2 separate regions of the Homo sapiens genome follow, and region 2 is linked to region 1. The links are contacts of gene promoters, found by promoter capture Hi-C in human tissues and cell types (Jung and others, 2019). All regions are on one chromosome and are shown on one strand. The core of a region is centred on a gene start or on the middle of the fragment in contact, and the rest is flanking DNA. Distances in the headings are between cores, read along the strand shown. Region 1 holds the start of DNAI2 (dynein axonemal intermediate chain 2). Region 2 overlaps CD300A (CD300a molecule).

What was found. Contacts are between HindIII fragments. The study calls those that stand out against the background at their distance.
Region 2: a contact is called between a fragment that was not itself captured here and the fragment with the promoter of DNAI2 in region 1, in 2 of the 25 tissues and cell types used here (liver and pancreas).

The regions. Positions count from the first base shown.
Region 1 is chr17:74,272,007-74,276,850 of GRCh38, reverse strand. DNAI2 (dynein axonemal intermediate chain 2) reads right to left here and starts at 2,617. Exons shown (of 14, transcript NM_023036.6): 1 at 2,506-2,617. The HindIII fragment of the contact is 25,570 bases long and covers 1-4,844 here.
Region 2 is chr17:74,473,314-74,478,157 of GRCh38, reverse strand. CD300A (CD300a molecule) reads right to left here. Exons shown (of 7, transcript NM_007261.4): 2 at 4,284-4,622; 3 at 3,473-3,626; 4 at 628-722. Among named protein-coding and RNA genes, the nearest start is that of CD300A, 9.1 kb to the right of the region's middle. The HindIII fragment of the contact is 3,703 bases long and covers 814-4,516 here.

The sequences.
Region 1 (4,844 bases), core at 1,368-3,867:
CTGACTTTTAAAAGAAATTGCTGCAAGCCAGCTGGCTCCTAGGGGACACAAGGAGATTGAAGAGAATGAGGAAACTCCAGGAAGACAGAAATAGCCTCTTTAGCCCAGATCAGATTTTTAACAGCTTTGCTTTCCTTCTTGGTGTTTCCCAAGGCCAAGCCCCGAGTGAGAACAGAGGCATTGTCTTGTGTCTGGAGGCAGACAGAGGGGACATTTAAAGACTGGCCTGGTGACGGGAAGACAACCCATTCAAGGACCCAGAGCAAGCTCTTCTCACAAGCTAGCAGGGCACACAGATGAATAGCAAGGTCAGCAAAGGGCGTCTCAGGAGGTCTCCCCCAACCTCTTGTGAGACTAGTGCTAGAGGGTGGGCTTCCCCAAGCAAGGCCTGAGCAGGAGTGTCTGCATGGGGTGACAGAGCGGGGACGGGAGCAGTGTCACTGCCCTCTGGAGTTTTGGGGGGAGATCCTCCCCCCGTGGGAACCTAGAGTCCCAGAGGCGTGAAGAACACCACTGTGAGTCTCAAACACAGGAACACGCAGAATCAGGGACGCTGTGGTCCAGACATCAAAGATTCAGGCGTCTCCCGCATCCCCGGGGAGGCAGTCAGATGGGAACCTTCACTCACTATAAAAACAAAACTCGTCTTGTGCAGTGAGAATGAGCAAAGTAATTCCTGGAGAGAACCTCCGGTGGCTTAAGGGAAAGTGTGTTTTCCAAGCTGGGAGGAAGGCCAAGGGAGTGATGGGGAGGAGGAGTGTCAGCGTGGGAGACTGGGAAGGAGGCAAGCTGGAAGGTCAGCCCTCCACATTGAACTCCCTAGTGGAATAAGGAGATGAGAACATTTTCCTCTTCTTCTTGGTCCCTGGTACAGCCCCTACTGGGTTCCTGCGAGTGGTGGGCCCTGCATGGCACCTGGCAGGAGAGGACTTCCTTCCCTCTTTCTTTGTTGTTGTTGCTTTTGGGACAGTGTTGCTCTGTCACCCAGGCTGGAGTGCAGTGGTGTGATATTGGCTCACTCCAACCTCTGCCTCCCAAGTTCAAGCGATTCTTGTGCCTCAGTCTCCTGAGTAGCTGAGACTACTGGTGCATGCCACCACACTCGGCTAATTTTTTTTTTTTTTGAGACGGAGTCTCAGTCTGTCACCTAGGCTGGAGTGCAGTGGCCTGATCTCAGCTCACTGCAACCTCCACCTCCCAGGTTTAAGCAATTCTTCTGCCTCCACCTGCCGAGTAGCTGGGACTACAGGCGTGAGCCACTGCACCCGGCCAGAATTTTTGTATTTTTAGTAAAGATGGGGTTTCACCATGTTGGGCAGGCTGGTCTCAAACTCCTGACCTCAAGTGATCCATCCTCCTGGGCCTCTCAAAGCACTGGGATTACAGGTGTGAAAACCGCACCCAGCTTTCTTTCTCTTTCTTATGTCCTTGTGCACCTTCTGGAATTCCGGGGTCCTGAGGGACTCACTCTACCCTCAAAAGAGGCAGACCTCCCTAGAAAGCCCCCATTTATTTTCCCCCAGGATAGCACTAAGCATGGCTGAGCCCCCCAAGGAAAGTGAAGGTTGAGGGCAGGACGAGTTGGGAAGAGGTCCCCAGAATTGGAGACCGATGGGGGTCAGTGACTACCTGCCCTCACAACTACCTTGTGGTCTCCTTGACGGAAAGACTGTGGTCTTTTATTCACTCCCGTCCCCAGGGACTGGCACATAGAAGGGGCCCAAGACTCCTGTCACCTGCTGCGTTAGTGACTGTGATACCAGCGCCTACCAGGCTTCTCTCTACAGCTCTCTCCCCTGTTCCTCCTCTGCTGACCGTGACAAACAAGCAAAGGATTTGAAACCAAGGATTCGAGAGGAAAACACATAGGGTCTGAAAGCTGGGAGAAGACGCACTTCTGTGGTTCAAGAGAATGTGGTAAACCTTGACCTTGAGCAGGAAGGAGGAACTGCACACGCTCCGGAGGAACTCACCAACTGTATGACCTCGATCACACGAGAACGCCAGCTCCCAGGTTGAGGAAGAAATGAAAGAAAGCACTTAAAACACCTGCCACCTAGCAGGTGTGCAATACTGTTAATTTACATCCCTCTATCCTGAGCAGAAAGCTCTCCTCTTAAAGGGCCCATCTTCCCATCACCCTAGCCGGAGGCTGTTTTTCTTCTTTTTTTTCCATCCATTCAGCTGTAAATCCTTCAGAGGTCTCCAGTCCACTCCAGGACAAGGACTGTATCAGGACCTGAGTGGGTAGGAGGGTATGAGGCAGGGTGTACAGAGGCTGCAGGGTCCTGCGACTTGGGGCGGATCCAGGGCAGCGAGGACTAAGGGGAAGAGGGCACTAGGAGCGCTAGTCCTGGCAGCCACCATCTGGCAGAGCTATCCCAGAAGGAAGCCCCCCAAGAGGAATGTTTGGCACTCTTGGTGGTTATTACCCTGTAAGTCTCTCCCTGTCACTCTCCACTCTAGTCTTTAGCCTCCGACGTCCTCCTGGCGCCCGCCCCTTACCCTGGGTCCGCTCCTTCTGCTTCTGGGTCTCTGGGGAAGCGTTCAATCCACGGTCGCGGCTCCGGTGCTCCTCAAACGGCGGCGTTTACCGGTTGCTTGGCAACCCCGGCCTGGCTCCGGACGCGCGGGGCGACGCGGAAGGACCCCGGAGCACGTGACTCCTTTCCTGCCACGTCGGAAGCGCAGGCCATCCCTCTTCTTTTTGGAGGTCTCCTGAGTTAGGAGAAGAATTAACCAATAGGTTGGTAACATACTAATAATGATCATGAATATTTGTAGGGGCGTTGCCAAGGCGCTTATCCAAGCCTACGTTTGTATGCATTTGCATCGAGCAAGGCACCCAGAAAATGCAAGGAAGAATAGTCAGTGCTTGGGAAGCCCTGATCCCTGGGTGGTGATGGCGGGCTCTGCTTACCATCTTGGCCGACTGTGTTGTCCTGCCTTCCTTCAGTTTCCGCATCCATTCAGTGGGAATTATAACTCTGCCCTCCCCTCTGCTACCATCCTTCCTCCACTTTCTGTAATAAAGACATCTTCCCGCACCACCAGAATGGAAACTCCTTGGGAGTAGAAGCTGGGGAATTTTTTTTTTTTTGAGACGGAGTCTCGCTCTGTCGCCCAGGCTAGAGTGCAGTGGCGCGATCTCGGCTCACTGCAAGCTCCGCCTCCCGAGTTCACACCATTCTCCTGCCTCAGCCTCCCGAGTAGCTGGGACTACAGGTGCCCGCCACTACGCCCGGCTAATTTTTTGTATTTTTAGTAGAGACGGGGTTTCTCCGTGTTAGCCAGGATGGTCTCGATCTCCTGACCTTGTGATCCGCCTGCCTCGGCCTCCCAAAGTGCTGGGATTACAGGCGTGAGCCACCGCGCCCGGCAAAGCTGGGGATTTTTACAGCTTAGCTGGGTGATTGGCACGAAATGTACTGTGTTCATTGAATGAATGGTTGAATGAATGAAACGAGTCATGTTTCTCAGGGAGTTAAGGCAATTGCGATCATGTAAATTAAAACAAGGGAATTTGGGGCTAGAAAAAAATGAATTTGAATCCCAGATTGGCTACCTACTAATCTCATGGCCCTGGGCAAGTTCCTTTCCTTTTCTAAGACTCAGCTATCCTCATCTGCAAAGTGGCAGGACAGTGGCGGTGCTTATTAGATAATGGGGAGGATTAAGTGAGAGACAACACAGGGGCGTGTCCAGCCCCCGTCCAGAGCTACTGGTGCCTGAATGAGTGGCAGCTCGGGGAATGAGGTTATCCCGAGTTCAGATGCTGACATCGGAAATTTGGACTGGGACAGAAGAGGAGTGCGTCATCCAAGAAGTGGGATTGGGGTTGGAACTGGGCCTTGAAAAATGGTTATGAGTTGCAGGGAAGAGGAGTGGGGAGGGCGTTCCAGATTGGGGGAGGGCATGGCGTGAGCAAGGAAGGAAGGGGCAGTCGTCATGGAAGAAAGGCATTTTGCGAGGATGGTGGGTGGATCAGTCTGGCTGGGGTTGAGAGTCCCTGCAGGGGAAAAATGAGAGAGGAATTTGCAAAGGTCAGCCAGGGCCAGTCTGTGGGGGGTCCCAAGAGAGGCAGGCTGAGGGGCCCAGACAGCTTTCCATGGGAAGCCCTCAGCGGGTTTGGGATCTGTGAAAGGACAGGAAGGAAGCAAACGTTTCTCTCCCACTTCCCAACTTCTCCATATATGTGTTGTCACCACTACCCACCTGCCTTTAGTGGGGCAGGTGCAAGGAAATTCCCAATGAGACGGCACCTTGCAGGGCCGCACTAACCAAAGACAAGCACCTAAATGACTGCTGCCACCAATCTCTCCTGATCCGTTCTGGCTCGCACCAGTTTCTCGGGACAAAGAACTCTTAGGGGTGGGTGCTGAGGGTCCTGACAGGGGCTGGGTGGAGGAGCTCCTGAAAGACGCATTGAAATGGCTTTGTGTGGTCAGAGGTGAATCAGACCCAAAGTCTCCAAGAATAGGAAACGATCCACTCCATGATGAGGTAGTGGCTGGCTGGGGTTGCAATCATAATGCAACCCTTTCCACTCCACCTCCAGCCCTGGGAAGCCGAGGGCTCTCTGAAGACACATTATTTTGTGGGTGGGAAAGTGGGTTAGAAGGGGAAATAGGAAAAGTTGAAAGGAAACTGCAGCCACCTTTACCATATTATCCAACAATTTAGTACAGGCTCCCCACCCCCACCCTCACCCAGAAGGCTGCAGGCCACCGACCACAGAGGGCAGCTCTGTTCACTGGCCAAACAGTTACCCCTTGGCCGGCTGCCTCGGCGTGAGGTCATATAATTAGAAGTATTCACAAGGACCTAGTTTGAAAACAATTGCG
Region 2 (4,844 bases), core at 1,416-3,915, 200 kb before region 1:
GAGGGGGCAGGGGAGGCCCTCCAGCCCAGAGCAAACCCAGAAGGAGAGGAGAGGCTGAGGTTGAGGCTGTCATTAAAGGAGATACAAGAAGTTGGTTTCCAGGGTGCGCGGATGGGGAGAGGGAGGTGGGTAGAGCCAGATCGTGGAGGGCAGTGACTCCTGTAGATACCTGGACTTTTTATGGTGGGGGAGACCATGCAAGGGTTTATTTTATCTTATAGACACGGGAGCCTTGTTGTGTTGCGCAGGCTGGTCTTGAATTCCTGGGATCAAGCAATCCTCCCATCTCAGCCTCCTGAGTAGCTGGAACTACAGATGCACACCACTGCACCCAGCACACCATGCCAGGGTTTTAAACAGAAGAGGGTCATTGCTTCATGGGGCAACCACCCTTGGCCTGGAAGTGGGAAAGCCTCCTGCTTGGGAGCCACCTCTCACAGCCTGTAACCACCACGCACAAGGATGCCTCCCATGGGACCTGCCCTGTAGGATCACCTAGGATGTGTGGTCTGGGTGTCACATGTCATAGCAATACTGTGGGACGTGGACATAGCTTTGAAGATGAGCGTCTGTGGTCAGGGTCTGACCACCCCAGGTGGGGCAGAGGGGTGTGGGGAGCCAACTCACCTTTGATCCATTTCTGAAACATCCTCCAGGCTAGCAGGGAGGCCCCCACCAACAGAAGCAGCAACAATGCCAGCAGGGAGAGGAGCAGCGGGAGCCTGGAGGAGGCACAGGATGGTAAGGGCGGGGCCAACTTGCCTTCTCCAACTTACTTTTTTATTTTTATTTTTTATTTTTATTTTTTGAGACAGGATCTGGCTCTGTTACCCAGGCTGGAGTGCAGTGGTGATCATGGCTCACTGCAGCCTTGAACCCCTGGGCTCAAGTGATCCTCCTGCCTCAGCCTCCAGCTACAGGCACAGGCCACCACGGCTAATTTTTAAATTTTTCGTAGAGACTCAATCTTGCTATATTGCCCAGGATGGTCTCAGACTCCTGAGCTCAAGCCACCCTCCTGCCTCAGCCTCCCAAAATGCTGGGATGACAGGCATGAGCCAATATACCTGGTCTCCTTCTCTAACTTTTTAAGTAGATAGATAAGGTCAATTAAAAAAAATAGACAGTATAAAGCCCCCTTTCTACACACCCCCCATTTACACATTCCCCAATTTCCCCACATACACACACGTGCTGTTCTTAAGAACCTTCCAGAGTTTCTTTATGTGTATACAAGCAAATACGAATGTACGGGATCTCCTTTCTCTTTCACACAAAGGAGGCCTCGTCTAACACTATTCTGGTTTTACTTAGCAATACATCTTAGAGGTCTTTCCACGTCAGTACATAAAGAAGTCCCTCACTCTTTCCTATAGCTGCAGGGTATTCCAACACATGGATAGACTGTGATTTATTTAAATGTTCCCACTGAATGGGCATTTCCCCAGTCCTTTGCAATGGTAAACGTTGCTTATAAATCGCCTTGCAGCTCCACCTTTTCACACCTGACCACGCAGCAGCAGATTGACCAGGAGGCTGATGCAGCCCAGCTTCAGGTCCCTCCATTGCTTGGGCCCTTTCCTTCATGCCTACGTTTGCATTCATAATTTTCTCATCTTTTTCTTAGATTACCCACCCACCAACCCACCCCGCAAACTGCACAACCTTCAGGCCCCACAGAACTCAGCGCTGCCACCTATGTGTATCTACAGGCTAAACTTCTGGAAGTGGCATGTTCAAGCCTGAATTTTGCCTTGTCTTATATGTTGGCAGAAGCCTGTGGAGGGGTTTATGGATGTTGTCCAGTAAAGAATCTGGCTGGCCTTTGTCCCTAGCTCTTAGGAGGGAGGCTCTAAATCCTTGGAATGTCCCAAAAATTAGGAGTGTCTTTGTTGTTCATGAATCACACCTGGACTTTGGTAAGAGATGAGACAATAGGATGGGGCTGGTCACCAGAAAGACCAACTACGTAATTAGAGATTTGGAGCCCTGAGCCAGCCCAACCTCCCAAAGAGGGACTGGAGGTGGAGACAGTTCAATCACATCATGCCTATGTAATGAAACCCCAATAAAAACTCTGGACACCAAAGCTTGGAGGAGCTTCCTGGTTGATAAATATATTGAGGTGCCGCAGGGAGGGTGCAGGTGATGCTCCCTGATTCCACCTGGAGAGGGCACAGAAACTGTTTGGGAATCCTCCCAAGCCTTGTCCTATGTGTCTCTGCATTGGCTGGTCCTAATCTTTATCCTTTATCCTTATGATAAAACTGTAATTGTAAGTATAATGCTTTCCAGAGTTCTGAGTCTAACAAATTATTGAACCTGGGGGGGTCCTGGGAACCCCCAAATTTGCATCCAGTTGGTCAGAAGTGTGGTGGCCTGGGGATCCCCAAAGTTCGACTGGCATCTAAATCAGGGCGGTCTTGTGGGATCTGATTTAGATGTGGAAGCTCTTCACCTGTGGGGTCTGCACTAACTCTGGGTGGATAGTGCCAGGATGGAATTGTGGGGTTTTGTGCTAGAATAGGGAGTCCGTGAATCCCAGAAAAGGTTTGTGACTGCATGTGTTTTTCTGGGGAGAGTGTCCATAGATGTCAGATTCTATGTGGGGTTGGTGAACCCGAAAAAGGTTAAGAACCACTATTTAGAGAGGAGAACTCAAGGCTCTGGAGTCACATAAACCAGAATTGGAAGCTTAGCCTTAGCCTCTTGTAGCTACTTGACTGGGCAAATTGCTTCACCTCGCTGAGTCTCAGTTTACTCATCTGTAAAATGGGGATTGATGTGGGTTGGCTGGGTCCCCACCCAAATCTCATCTTGAATTGTAGCTCCCATATAATTCCCACGTGTTGTGGGAGGGACCCAGTGGGAGATAACTGAATCATGGGGGTGGTTTGCTCCATACTGTTCTTGTGGTAGTGAATAAGTCTCACGAGGTCTGATGGCTTTATAAGAGGAAACCCCTTTTGCTTGGTTCTCATTCTCTGTCTTGCCTGCTGCCATGTAAGACATGCCTTTTGCCTTCTGCCTTGATTGTGAGGCCTCCTCAGCCATGTGGAACTGTGAGTACATTAAAACCTCTTTCTCATTATAATTTATCCAGTCTCGGGTATGTCTTTATCAACGGTGCGAAAACAGACTAATACACGGAATGACAACAGTACAGGGCTGCAGTGAAAGGCAAGTGAGAATACTCATGTGAAGCATCTAACACGGGCCTCGTAGGATGTTACCAGCTGTCAGTAACTATCACTTTCCTTCCATCTGCCCCCCAACTTCCCCCCTACCTGAGCCCCCTTCCAAAGCCAAGGGCAGGTCCAAGCCGGGGTGTTCAGACTATGGCTTCCAACCTGGGCCTGGGGCAAAGGGAGCGATGCACACCTCCAGCTGGCCCACATGGCCAAGGTCCCCGCCCTGGGCTCCTCCTCTTAGCACAGGGCCCCCTCCATGTCTCAGGGGCTAGGGTGCTTACTGTGAGTTCACCACCTCCTCAGTTTCCTCCTGGATGCTGGCACTGTGGGTGGCACCCACTGCAAACAGGGTAGTGGATGATACAGGTGGAAATGCAGTTGTGATTGTTGAGGTCTTGGCCGCAGTGATACTTGCAGGTGTCATTGACGTTGATGCTGGTGGCAAAACCACAAGTCAGACCCAGGGAGCTGTCCTCTGGCTCTCCCACCACTCAGGATGCCTTTTTGGTTTGATTTCACACAAACTGCCCACTAAGGAAGGGGGCAGGATGCAGGACCCTGGGGCTAGAGTCTCTCCAGGACCCTCCTGGGCCAACTGGGCATTTCTGAACAGGACACGGGTGCCACTCCCAGTGGTCCTGATTTTCCATCCTGCTGATGAGGGTCCAGGTGCTCCTGCGAAACTCCATGCTGCAGAGGAGTCTGTCTACACTGCAAATCTGACCTGTCATGTGGTAAGGCTCCCCCTGAGGACAGCAGCTTCCCATCTGGCCCCCCAGCCTCTCTGTTCAGCCCCACCCCTCCCCCACTCAGCTGCACTTCCGTTGGGGCTGAGCCACAGGTGCGCTCCTGGCTCCTTCACAGGCAACGCTCTCTCAGCCTCCCTGTCACTGGACCCTTCCCTTCTTCAATACTGGGCAGACATGTCAGCTGCTCCAGGAGAGACCCCCTGACTGTGTTCCCCTGGCCCCCACCTCTCTCTCTCTTACGCACACACACACACACACTGTCTGCTTCACGTCTCTGATCTGATTCCTGCCCCAACAATTCCAACCTGAGCCTATTTAGGCGCTGAGGGAAGGAGGGGCTCACCCGGGAACACGGACACCTCAACCTCGACAACGGGATCATGAAAGTCTCGGAGCCATGGTGTATCCACCCCACACCAGTAGGTGCCTGCATCCTCCTCTGTGAGATTCTCCAGGGTCACTGTGAAGCTGAGGTTTGCAGGACTGTCCCTGATGGACACTCGGCCGTTCCTTTTTCCTGCTGACCCTTTGGTCTCCACAATCTTGTCACATAGGAAAATCTGTGGTGGTCTGCACCAGTATTTGTTGAGGGTCCTGTGTTCCTTCTCATAGGGACACTGCACACTCAGGGATCCCCCCACGGGGCCCGCCACGGTCCTGCATTTGCTCAGAGCAAAACATCCTGGAAAACACAAGCCAGAGTCCCAGCTCCTCCTCAGATGAGCCTGGTCAGGGGTGCCCTGGGGTCAGGGCCGCATGGACCCTGGGGGTGTGGAGGAGGCAGCGGCAGGCAGAGAGGCCTTGTCCACCCAGGAGCGGGGACTGAGGATGAGAGGCTACCTCCGCACACAGGTGGGAATGGGGCAGAGGCTTTCCATGGAGACCGGAAGAGCTCAGGCTGGGT